Regions from separate parts of the Homo sapiens genome. Here regions 1, 2 and 4 are each linked to region 3. Evidence: promoter capture Hi-C in 16 types of primary human blood cells and fetal thymus (Javierre and others, 2016). All regions are on one chromosome and are shown on one strand. The core of a region is centred on a gene start or on the middle of the fragment in contact, and the rest is flanking DNA. Distances in the headings are between cores, read along the strand shown. Region 1 overlaps TARS3 (threonyl-tRNA synthetase 3). Region 2 overlaps TM2D3 (TM2 domain containing 3). Region 3 holds the start of ASB7 (ankyrin repeat and SOCS box containing 7). Region 4 overlaps LRRC28 (leucine rich repeat containing 28).

Region 1 (3,092 bases), core at 278-2,777, 1.1 Mb after region 3:
GCTTGACTGGTCACTTCTAGACGGTTAGCTTGCATTAGAAGCCCCTGGAGAGCTCATAAAAACACTGATGGCTGATCAATTCAGGGGGTTTGAGGTGGGATCCCCAAATTTGCTTTTCTAACAAGTTTCCAGGTGATGCCCATGCTGCTGGTCTGGGGACTACACTTTGAGAAATACTGACCCAACACATTTAACATGCAACCTGACTCTCCATGAGAAAACAAACTTATTCTTGCCTCAAAACCTGTTTTCTCCTAGCACATCATTCCTCCTGGAAAACATGAAAACAGGCTGGGAGAGCATTTAACAATATAATAGGATGAATCAGAAATACAATCTTAGCCATAGTTTTCAAAGAAAATCTGAGAATTTCAGTTGTTGAAACAGTTTGCTTTTTAAATGATGAACATTTATTTACATGGCATTAATACAATTGTATAGAAGCTATATAATTGTATTTATACAATAGCTTCTATACAATTGTATTTAATGCTAAGAATTAACATGAGTCAAAACAATATAAGTTCACTAATGTATCTAATTTCTAGAAAAGTCAAAGCACTTTTCCAAGACTGATAATAGCTCTAAAACATTTATCTTCAATCTATACTTAAAAGACCTGTAAAAACTCATGGAAATTACTTGATTGACGAATAAAGTCAGTGTAAAATGGCCTATCAAGAATTACAGATTTTTTTCTCTCCTATATATTTTTATTAGAACAGGAAATGATTGTGTTCTGATATTCAACTACTTATTTACATGGCCCTTGGAGAAGCCAGAGGAAAAAAATTAAATACATTTAATTTATTCAACTGAATAAAAAAAAAATTAGCTGATATGGTTTGGCTGTGTGCCCATCCAAACCTCATCTTGAACTCTAGTTCCCATAATCCCCACGTTTTGTGGAAGGGACCCAGTGGGAGGTAACTGAATCACAGGGGCTGTTACCTCCATGCTGTTCTTTGATAGTGAGTGCATTCTCATGAGATCTGATGGTTTTATAAGGGGTTTTCCCCCCACTTTGCTCTGCACTTCTCCTTGCCGCTGCCATGTGAAGAAGGACATGCTTGCTTCCCCTTCTGCCACGACTGTAAGTTTCCTGAAGCCTCCCCAGCCCTGCGGAACTGTGAGTCAATTAAATCTTCTTCCTTTATAAATAACCCAGTCTCAGACATGTCCTTTTAGTATCGTGAGAATGGAGTAATATATTAGCGGTCCCTAAGAAAACATTTTCACCAGGCTTCAGTATAATTACTTAAGATTGAATATCTTTTCCACACTGCGGTTTACCTAATTTCAGCAGCCACTTGGTAAGGCGTTGTTTTCCAGACTTCCCCTTGCACTGTTTGCCCATCAGCCACTCTTACTGTGATGATGTTGCTTGTATCCCCCTTTTTTCCATAAATGGCAAGTAAGAGCTGATGGTCTTTCTTCAGTATTTCAAAAAGCTTCAATCTTTCTTTTATGAAAATTGGTTGATGCTTCACCTGGAAATTATTAGAACATAATGAGATTAATATATACAGCCTACTGTTTTCCAGCTGCTCAGCTCTGAATCAGGCTCACCCCCTTACTGCCTTCTCAGTTCTACAGATGGTCCCAAGCTTACCATGGTTTGAATTACGATTTTGTTGTTGTTGTTGTTTTTTGGTTTGTTGTTGTTGTTGCTGTTGTTTTGAGATGGAGTCTTGCTTTGTCGCCCAGGCTGGAGTGCAGGGGCACGAAATCAGCTCACTGCAGCCTCTGTCTCCTAGGTTCAAGCGATTTTCCTGCCTCGGCCACCCGAGTAGCTGGGATTACAGGCACGCACCACCCTGCCAGACTAATTTTTGTATTTGTAGTAGAGATGGGGTTTCGCCATGTTGGCCAGGCTGGTCTCGAACTCCTGACCTCAAATGATTTACCTGCCTTGGCCTCCCAAAATGCTGGGATTACAGGCGTGAGTCACCGTATCCAGCCGCAATTTTTCAACTTTAGTGATGTGAAAGTCATATGCATTCAGTAGAAACTGTACTTTGAGTATCCATACAACCATTGTGTTTTTCACTCAGTACAGTATTCAATAAATTACATGAGATATTCAACACTTCATAATAAAATAGGCTTTATGTTAGAGGATTTTGCCCAACTGTAAGCTAATCTAAGTGTTCTGAGCACTTTTAATGTAGGCTAGGCTAAACTACGATGATCACTAGCTTACGTGTATTAAATACATTTTTAACTCACATTGGTTTTATTGGGACATAACCCAACTGTAAGACTAAGAGCATGTGTACTTCCCACCTCCAAAAGGCTCCTCTCTGCCTATCTAACTTCTCCTTAGCTCTAAAGGTCCACCTCAAAGCCTGCCTCCTCTACCTATTTTACCCGCTGGCATCTCCCTTTTTTTTTTTTTTTTCCTTTGAGACAGCCCCACGCCCAGCCCCCATGACACCTCCCTTTTCTACTGTTTACAGAACGTGTACAGAGTCACACATTACAGCACTTACTTGTATACCATCGTACTCTGTTCTCTAGTTGTTTGTCCTGAGTCTGCCTGAATTCCTCAACCAGACTAACTTCTTTGGGCCTAGGTATTCCTTCTTCACTCCTACCAAATGTTGATGCTAGATAAATACTTACTGATTGTTTTAATGCTTTATATACAAAAGCAAAGTAGCTAGTTTCTCGAATACAAAAAAAAAAAAAAGACCGGGGGCGGTGGCTCACGCCTGTAATCCCAGCACTTTGGGAAGCCAAGGTGGGCGGATCATGAGGTCAGGAGATCGAGATCCTCCTGGCTAACACGGTGAAACCCCATCTCTACTAAAAAAAAAAAAAAAAAAAAAAAAAAATTAGCCGGGCTTGGTGGCATGCACCTGTAGTCCCAGCTACTCAGGAGGCTGAGGCAGGAGAATCGCTTGAACCTGGGAGGTGGAGGCTGCAGTAACCGAGATCATGCCATTGCACTCTAGCCTGGGCAACAAGAGCAAACCTCCGCCTTCAAAAAACAAAAAAAAACCAACCAAACAAAAAAAACCAACTCTAGTACTCTAGTAGCACAACTTAAATAGATTAAATACACGTGTTTATTAAACATGGGCAGCTCA
Region 2 (2,957 bases), core at 458-2,957, 1.0 Mb after region 3:
AGGAGTCAAATGTATCAATTCTTTATTTTATGGCTTCTAAACTTTATTTCATACTTAGAAAAATATTCTCCATTTTGGGATTATAACAGCAACTATCTGGTGTTTTCTGTGGTACTTCAGGGTTTCATTTTTCACATTACATCTTTGGACTATCTGGAATTTATTCTGGATAAGACAGGCGTTCCACTTAATTTTGTTCTAGAGAGCTACCAGGCATTCCGGCATTTACTGAATCCATCTTCTCACCACAGATAAGCACTGGCCCTTCAAAAGCTCATCTATGGCAGAAAGACACTGCCACCCCCTCTGTACACTAGCTGTCACTATTGAGAACACAGAATCCATCTGAACGAATTAGACTTGCTTCAGATATGCTAGTAGACTGAGATCTTCTCCAGTCCTACAAAGCAACATTTCTGTCAAGTGCATTTCCAGCAGACATCAACTGGCTTGACAGTTATCATTATAACTAAAACAGTAGTGAGCTGATATGGAAAGGTCTATTGGGTTTTTTAATTTATTTCTGCTTACATACTCAAAAGGGAAATCATAAAAGAATATAAAAATTCTTCAGAATTTCTTCCCAATAATCAAGTCTGAATTGTTCTTCTAACTTAAAGTTTACAATGAATTTATTTAGAATAAGTAAGCTGCAGTACTTACAACACAGGTAACAGATGGTTTCACTGCACAGTCAAAAGTGACAGGCTTCCCATAGGTACAGGAGAAATTTGTTGTGCAGTCTATACAGTCTGCAGGAAGCCTGCTACACAAACCATTGCTCGGACACTTCATCACATAAGGTGGGATTTCAGTACTTTCTGTGAGAGGCAAGAGAGAAGCTTATTCTCCTATAATACTGATTCGAATAACAGAGAACAATCTTCTAAGGTTAAGAGACGTGATCATTAGCAAGTAGACACTGCACTGGAAGGGAAGAAGCATGGGACTGGAGTCAGAGACACCTGCAATTAAAGCAGAATTCTGCCCACGGCCAGCTGTGGGACCTGGTGAGCACCACACTTGTAAAACATTACTTCATTCCTGCCTCCCACGTGGCCGTGAAAACTAAAGGTGCTCATATACAAATAATGTATAGAAAATTCTGGGTATACATTAAGGGCTTAAAAAAAAGACTATCATTTTGTAAGTTGAAAAAAAACTTACAGTAGGGTTTTGCAAAATCACAGAGGAAGTCTGTGGCAAAACTGGAACTAGAACCCAAATCTCTCCATTTCCAATCCCGTGTTCTTTTCATCTGAATTCACTAATTCAGAAATGAAGCCACTGACATCCTCAGGGCATCAACTTTAAAATGTCATTATTTCACACTGGTACTTCGATAAGCCACATTTGCTAATATAATATTTACAGTTTTACGCTACCAAAGTTCAAAACAGTTCTCTACTTTAATAACATCTTCAGTAAGCTGCAACTTATTTCCAACCAACCTAATGAGTGTGCAATGTATTTTTACCAACTGAAAGGATCAAAATTGCAAGTATTCCTGAAAAGAAGGGCTTTCAAAAGCCTGCAAGAGTTAAGAACTCTTGTGCTTTCTCTAAAAAGTAATCTGAGTTTAAAATTCAAGTGCACTGCTGTTTTTTACATCCAAATAAGAATCAGTAAAATATCTCTGCCAGTTTCAATTCACTGAAGTAATGTCACTTTAAAGTGATGAAATTATAGTCAGAGCCTCCACCTAGCAAAACACACTAATGCTTGTTTAAAACTGGTCCTACTTTACTCACTGTATTAAGGAACAATTCTACAAAATACTCTTTTTGATCCCGTGACTATGTGGCTGGAAGGTGGACACTTAGAATCACAAAGCAGAAATGACTTTAGGTCGTCAGACCAACCCCACCGCTTTAAAGATGAGGACCAAGGTCCAAAGAGGATAAATAATTTGTTCAAGATCCCAGTAGCAAAACCAGATCTAGATTTCAAGTCTCCATCAGTCCCGCTGTAATCCTTCCATTTCCACAGTCCTGAGGGAGCCTTTAATATTCCAACATCAGGAACAGGGTTTTAGCAGTAGAGGAAATTTGCTGAAGGGAAAGAAGCACGGACTGAAGGTTATTTTGATGGATGAAGTGGAAAAATAATAGAAATAAGGTGACAAATGAGCGTGGGATTGGAAAAAGAGAGGAGGCAGAAACGTCAAAAGGTATAAATACGAAGACTATCTACTGAAAATGGCTGTGTATCTACCCTTAATTCACATAATCTAAAATACAATAAATATTCAAAAATGGAAAGTGACTTCGTATACTAAAGGGAATTTTTATAAAAACAAAGAGAAACTACTAGAGATAACTACATGTATTTACTAGAATAGAAAACGTCTAGTACCTGCTGCCCTGGGAACTACTGTGAATGTGCGTGTTGGGCCCGGATCCTTTATTGACTGAGCCAGCGCCTGCGATTGCTCTAAATTTAAGGATCGTACAATTAGAGAAACACGTTATCCCGGGACAAGAAAACCTTATTTTGTGTGGTTAACACGGCGGGTCTACACCAGGCCAATAAGCTGCTCATGAAAACCTCACGGCTGGTCAGCCAGAAAACACAAAGCTTAGGGACGAAACGTCAACAGAGTAGACATCAGTTCAGGTCAGCCGGCAACGAGGGACCGAAGGATGACATCGCGCTCCAGTTCCGCCTCCCCGGCCCAGCCCCCAAGCGCTCCATCTCCGTGCCAGGGCTCCGCAGCCGCGATGGCGGGCTCGGTGTCGCCGGAGCGGAGGGGCGGCCTCGGGCCGGGCGGCCAGGGCGCCAGACTCCAGATGCAGCGACAAGCGGCCCGGAGCCCGGCACTCGGCCTCCTCCCCGCGTCAGCGTCCGCCCGTGGGCCCGGCCTCCTCGCAGCTCCCGGGGCCCTGCTGCCACTCAGCCCCACCCGGCGCTGAACCCAGCCTTTGACTCACCACCGCCCGACAGAATGCAGAACTGCG
Region 3 (3,186 bases), core at 369-2,868:
CAGTCTCATTACCAGTCATTTTCCTACCACTCTGCTTCAGCTACCCTAGCCTTCTTTCTGGCAGTTCCTGTAAACAGCAAAGCATATTCTAGCATCAGAGGCTTTGCATTTCTAATTCTCTCTGCTGGCAAAATTCTCTCCCTAGATCTTGGCATGGCTGGCTCTTTGTCATTCAGATCCCTGCTCAAATGTCACTTCCTCAGAGACCTTTCCTATCTGTCTTAGTCCGTTTCCTGTTGCTTATAAAATAATTCCTAAAACTCGGTAATTTATAAAGAAAAGTAATTTATTGTCTAGTTTTGGAGGCTGGGAAGTCTAAGACTGACGGACCACGAGACAGCACCGCAAAGTATCACGTGGCCAGGGGGCTGAGCAGGCTCACGAGTTGTCAAGTCTCTCCTTAAAAAGCCACCAGTTCTACCTCCGTGATAACCCATTAATCCATGAATAGATCAATCCACTCGTGAAGACAGAACCCTCACGGTCCAACCACCTCTTAAAGACTCTACCTCTCAGTACTGCCACATTGGGGATTAAATTTCAACATGAGTTTTGAAGGGGACAGATATTCACACCATAGCACTACCTATCTAATACAGCCCATCACGTCCTGGTCAAAATCGATTCCACCATTCTGCTTGATTTTCCTCATATAACCCATCCCTATCTGATAATTTTGTGTTTGTTTCCCCGAAATCACTATCTTGTTCACTGTTGTCTCCCCAGGGACTAGAACAGTGGCCAGTAAACACTTGCTAATGAATAAAGTGCTTAACAAACGTGTCTTGATCAGTCTATCTCGCGTTTTCCCCACGACCCCTCTCCATTCATTCACAGGAACCCGCCAACGTTGCTATCCTTTCAGGAAGGTCCTTGGATCGTCATCGCTATCCCAAAGAGAGTCCGTTCTCCCACTTCAGGCGAGGCATTGCCAGCCTGGAAGCTAACGGGGTCTCAAGGACCGACAGCCGCGCCAAGACCGGGCACTTGCGTCTGACAAGCGCTGAACAGGGGCGGAGAAACAAGGCACCCCTCTACTCGCTTCCTGGAGCCTGCCGCCCTCCCAACCTTAAGCCCTGAACCAGGCTCTCATTTGGCCGCACTCGTGCCTCCCCTGCTGCCAGCACGGCGGCCGGTCCCGGTTACCTGCCTGGGATCTGGCTCAGGCGAACTCTCTTCACACCGCCATTTGAGGGAACACAAATGCCCGCTCTGGGCCACCGTAGTTCACAGAAAGTACAAGCTGGCACCTCCTCCCGCATGCGCAGAGACCGCCTTCGGCGAATAGTGTCTCTTAGCAACGGCTTTGAGTCCCTCCGCCAGGGGCGGAGCCTCGGAAGCCACCACGGGGAAGCTGTAAGGGGAAGTGAGTGAGACCAATCGGAGACGAATCTCTGCCCCGTTCGGCACGCCTCCCTTAACTGTCGCGAATGCAAAGGCAACTTTACGGCAGGCAGAGGGTGGGGGCTGCCGGGGGTAAGGAGGAGAGAAGGAAGCAACCAACCAACCAAGTCGTCCCTACTCCCTCCACCCCCACCCATCCCGGACCTGGTTTACGGCTCCAGGCTCAGGCTCCACTGCGGGCGCTGATTGGTTGTTGAAGGCTTGGTCCCATCCCAGTGACCCCAAAGTGCTGAAGGGAGGGGGCGGGGGTGGCCCAGTGCAAAGTGCATCCCGAAAGCCCCCTGTCCGGAGACCCCACGGCTGGCACTTCGGGCCCCGTATGACCTGGGACCTCGCCGTCCCGAGACCTCCTGGGTCCCTCCGTAGCTGGAAGCCTCCGGCCCGGAGCGCGGCAGCCCCCTGCTCCGAGCCCTGGACCGGGACTGCCCCCCCACCCGAGCCAGGACTTCCTCCCTGCCTCCCTGCACCTCTGCCCCAAGGCTGCCCGGCGGCCGGGATCGCCACCTCCTGCCTTCTCGGCTGTTCGGATGTTCGCCGGGCTGGGGCCGTGAGGCACCGAGGAGGATCAGGAACACCAGGGTCCGGCCCTGCCTGGGGTATTTCTTCAATGGAGAAGTTGGTGAGTGTAGAGGAGGCTGAAAGGAGGAAGAGAAGCAGCAGCTGAGGAGACAGGTAAAGTCCTTTACTTCCCCCGAGGGGAAGAGTGCTGGCTGGGAGGGTAGGAGGGAGGAAAATCTCTGCTTTTTCTTGCCTGCCCTTGCCACTCTCCAGCCCCTTTCCTGAGCTCCCCCCTCCCCACCTCTGAGACACTACACCACTCACTGGTTTCTGTTTTTCTAGGTTTGAGCTGGCTGAAGAAGACGCGAAAGCAGGAAGAGGTCTGCCCACCTATCAGAGAAGCAGAAGGCACAGTGCCTCTGACCAGCATCGTCTGTAAAGGTAATGAGCCAGCCCTCCCCTCCCCCGTTGTTTATTCCTGGCCCCTACCTCATTAAGCAGTGGTTTATTTTCAGGGTGGTTGCCTGGGAATGCAACCTTTCCTACCCCCCCCACCCCCACCCCCAGTTTCCCAGGAAAAACAAAAACATTACCCGTGCCTGATACTTAACATTTTATAACTTCTCTACCCAGGACAGTATTTTCCCACTTTCTTTCTGTACAGTGTGTTTCTGTGTTTTTCATTATCTTTTGGTACACTGTGCCATTTACTCTGCTCTGAGGCTTTGAGACCTTTTTGTAGCTACCCTCCCTTCCTTACTCTCATAGGAATTCCTCAATTCCTTGTTAATTGCTTGTTAATTCTGAATGACTTTCCTTTTTAATTAAACCACAATTTACTGTTTTCCCCCTTACTCTTTCCTATCACCTTTCTTCTACCTGCATCAGAAAAATCTTTTGAGTTATCTAACTGACAACGATTTGGTAGAGAAAGGTAAATTATTGGCCTGAGATTTATGAGTTTCAGAAAATAGTTTGATTTTATTTCCTACTAGAAAGCCAACCTGTGTACCTTAAGAGTGTGAATGGTATGAAGACAACATTATTACCCTGAAGCACTTAGGCATAATTAACTCTTTGGGCTTTCTGTGTGTTTGTGTGTGACAAATGTGGATGGGCTTTGAAACTTATAAAGATACAATGTTTCTTACACCTCAGATTTTCTAGGAGAACTTTTAAAAATTTGCACAATATCTTATTAATCGTTTGACTCAGGAATTTAAAAACAAAGGAACCTTTTGGTGTGTTTACATATCTGGGTCTTAATTTTAGCACTCTATAAAA
Region 4 (3,360 bases), core at 823-3,322, 1.3 Mb before region 3:
ATTTACAAGAAAAAAGGCCACAAGAGACTTGGAGGAAAACATAAAATCTCAACCTGGAAGCAAAATCACTTAATGAATCTGTCAACTGCTTTTCTTAATGGTAACAGTTGGCCTTCCTGAGGAAATGAAAGAGTAACTTGCCCAAATACTGATAGAGCTCTCACTACTTGCTAATTTTATTTTATAAATATGAATGGACAAAAAAGAGGTATCCAAATTTTAATGAAAGAGGGGAGTTTGGCTTATAGCTAAGCAACAGGAGCAGATGGATCCTGATTAAGCAGTTAATCTATGCAACAAGAGATAATTTAACTTAAAAATTATATTCCACTTAGTGAAGGAAAGAGAGATCTGTCAATCATGTTCCTGAATTGGGCTGGGAAATGAGGCACAGATGTTCTTTCTTTCCTGTTAGCCCAGGAGAAAAACATTCCTGACTTTCTGCTTCAAATATGAACAGGCAAATGAAAAAAGAATACAGATAGCAAAAACACGTAAAAAGATGTTCAACTTTTAGAAGAAGTGATAAAACACTAATTTTTACCTATCAGATTGGCAAAGATGAACACCTAGCCAGGCATCGAGGCATACCAGCTACTTGGCTGAGATGAGAGGATCATGTGAGCCCAGGAGTTTGAGACCAGCCTGGGCAACATAGTGAGACCTTGTCTAAAAAAAAAAAAATTAACACCTAGTGTTAAGGATAATTAATACCCAGTGTTGGAGACAGTTAGGAGAAGATACTGTCACATACTCCTAATGGAAATTAATGTTTTTGTTGAGTTGTTGGGCCATATCTAGCAAAACTACATGGATATGTGTTTGAATCGGCATTTTCACTTGCAAGAATCTACCCAATAGAAAAGTCTGGTGAACAAGAGTGTTTATCACAAAATTGAATATGATGAAAAATTGTTAAAACCTCGATATTCATCAATAATGGATTTGTTAAAATATGATAGCAGCTAGCACTGTTTGAGTCTTTACCAAGTGCTCAAACAGTTTTACGCAAATGACATGTATTATTTAATCCTCAGGACAATCCTGTGATGTAGGCACTATTATGATCCTTATTTTATAGACAAATAAACTAAGTCATAAAATGTACATCAAACTGAATAATGATTAAAGTTGGAGATGGATGGAGAGTATGAGGGTAGGGGTGGAGGCTGAAAGAAACAGCCTTACTTAAGTGTTTATAGGACAAGGGAAAACTCTACTAGTAAGTTTGGTTTATATTACTTTCAGTAAATATTTATTTTTATAATTTGGAGTCAGTTAAAATAAGATGGTTAGAATATAGTGCCACTAAGTTTTTATCAAGCTTTCTAATCAGCTAGTCTAAATATTTTGATTTACAGCGATGCATATGTTTATGCCATATTGACATAGATGACTCTCTTAGCCGGTGGTTAGGTGAGGGTGAGAGAGGTTGATGGCTAGGAAAGTCACACAACTATATCCGCCACCCCCTCCTTGAATTTGGTAGTAGTAGGATCTGGATCAAATAAGGATCAGAACACCCTGAGGGGAAAAACAGTAAGTTAAGGAGATGGCCTAAAAGAGCATCATACAGCCAAGTGCGGTAGGAGAAACCGGGAGCGGGAATTAAGTTTTGTTATTAGTTTGGTTCATTTTGAATTCCAGAGCAAGGACTTCTTGTTTTTCTCCAGTCTGTTGGATCCTTGCAGCTTGAACTGCTGCTAGGGTGCAGGGCCTCCATAATCGCCATGATTGCACTGTTCTTGAGCTAGCTCTGTATAAAAGCATCTCTGTTTCTTAAATTGACTATGTGGAAATATGTGAGTATATCAAATAGTAAAGCATTCTAATGGTCCGTTAGTGTTTTAGTGTTTGTAAGTAAATGTGGTACAGTTCTGGAAAACAGCCATTGCACATTTATCCTGTCTTCATAATACACATGTGCCTGAAAATTAAGTTTTGTTACAACAGCTTCTTTTCCTGTTGAATTTTCAGATTTAGAAGCTTTTCTGTCATTGTTACTGATTCCTTGTCAGTAATGTGAAACGGTGATTCCTTGTCAAATAATTAAGAAACTCAAGCCTCTCACATGTCATAATGACTTTCATTTTTCAGGAAAATGAACGTCTGTTCCATAACTTAACTCTATTTATGGAGTCATAGGATTTTAAAGCTAGAAGCTTTATTTATAATTTAGACAATTTTTCTTTTTGAGGAAACTAAGAAGAGGATAATGGCTGGTTCTAAAGTCACTTTTCAGTGCAAAAATAAGGTCTCCTAATTTGTGGTCCAGTTAGTTTTGCTTCATTTTAATTCTGTAGATATTTATTGATAACCTCTTCCTAGCCTAGCACCACCATGTCGTTAAAATTTAACCACGTTTATCGACTGTGGAGAAATGAAGTGCTGCATGTTAAGTGAATTTTCCCAGTTAATTTTTGTAAAGTCTGTGTCTGAGTTTTCCTGTGAATAAAAGTCTAGCTTAATAGAAATATTTTTAAACATGTATCATTCTTTGCTTTTTAAATGAAATGTAGGGAACCTGACTTAGCATATACCCTGTAATTTGTAGTTTCTGCCTAGGGAGTTAGGAGGGGGACAGTTTAGAAAGAGGTGGCAGGGCTAGGGGTCTTTTCTTAGAACAGACCATTATCTTGTGTACTCGAAGGGTGTTATTTGCAAGCAAAAGACTCAAAACCATTGGTGTATGTATGTTTCCACAAGTTTAAATTCATTTTTCAGGCATTCACTTTAATGAGGCACCTGTGTACTGGAAGTGAGACACCAGTGCCTAACTGTTAGTCCCATCGAATCAGTCAACAAATACATACGTTATGTAAGTAAGGCACTTGTACACGGATCTTGGAACATGCTCCCCACCCCACCCCCGCAAAACCAAACAGTTATGTCATAAACTTACAGAATTGTTCAAGCTAGGTGTAATCTTAAATCATTGATCTGGCTTAATGGGAATGTGTTTGGTATTCTATTTTTGTGTGTATTTTTATATTGCTTTGAAAATTGCATTTATAAAATCATACTTATGGCATGTTTATTAAATAGGTTTTTTTAAAAATAAAAAGCTGGAGAAGACACTTGATGCTTGTAACCTCCAACCCTTGTTTCCGACATTTACATAACTTAAAGTTTTAACAAATATTAAGATAAACACTTCAAGAGGCATTTCAGCAATTTTTAATGCCTGTTTTTTCTTTTGAAAAATCTTTTCTTGGCAATCAAATTTCTATCAAATTCAGAAACATTGTATTTTTGTAAATGTACTGGATGTATAGTTTTTTTTATTTTGAGCTCATTCTGTAAGTTTTTGCTAAGTTAAAAATATCAGTCTTGATGTTTGTTTTACATTTTTTGCCAGAA

The links. The method cuts DNA at HindIII sites, captures the fragments that hold promoters and counts their contacts. A CHiCAGO score of 5 or more calls a contact.
Region 1: a contact is called between a fragment that was not itself captured here and the fragment with the promoter of ASB7 in region 3, in 2 of 17 cell types (total B cells and fetal thymus). The highest score is 7.0, in total B cells.
Region 2: a contact is called between a fragment that was not itself captured here and the fragment with the promoter of ASB7 in region 3, in 3 of 17 cell types (erythroblasts, fetal thymus and naive B cells). The highest score is 7.3, in erythroblasts.
Region 4: a fragment that was not itself captured here is called in contact with the fragment with the promoter of ASB7 in region 3 in 2 of 17 cell types (fetal thymus and total B cells); the score reaches 6.1 in fetal thymus.

The regions. Positions count from the first base shown.
Region 1 is chr15:101,719,833-101,722,924 of GRCh38, forward strand. TARS3 (threonyl-tRNA synthetase 3) reads right to left here. Exons shown (of 19, transcript NM_152334.3): 3 at 1,294-1,490. Among named protein-coding and RNA genes, the nearest start is that of TARS3, 3.1 kb to the right of the region's middle. The HindIII fragment of the contact is 156 bases long and covers 1,450-1,605 here.
Region 2 is chr15:101,649,341-101,652,297 of GRCh38, forward strand. TM2D3 (TM2 domain containing 3) reads right to left here. Exons shown (of 6, transcript NM_078474.3): 1 at 2,931-2,957; 2 at 2,356-2,433; 3 at 664-821. Among named protein-coding and RNA genes, the nearest start is that of TM2D3, 1.6 kb to the right of the region's middle. RefSeq lists a silencer at 2,629-2,957. The HindIII fragment of the contact is 1,735 bases long and covers 841-2,575 here.
Region 3 is chr15:100,600,971-100,604,156 of GRCh38, forward strand. It overlaps ASB7 (ankyrin repeat and SOCS box containing 7), which reads left to right and starts at 1,619. Exons shown (of 6, transcript NM_198243.3): 1 at 1,619-2,076; 2 at 2,245-2,343. LINS1 (lines homolog 1) reads right to left here and starts at 1,214. Exons shown (of 7, transcript NM_001040616.3): 1 at 1,151-1,214. RefSeq lists an enhancer at 1,132-1,471 and silencers at 1,642-1,901, 2,352-2,401. The HindIII fragment of the contact is 6,685 bases long and covers 1-3,186 here.
Region 4 is chr15:99,265,801-99,269,160 of GRCh38, forward strand. The region is part of intron 2 of LRRC28 (leucine rich repeat containing 28); the gene reads left to right. Among named protein-coding and RNA genes, the nearest start is that of LRRC28, 16 kb to the left of the region's middle. The HindIII fragment of the contact is 176 bases long and covers 1,985-2,160 here.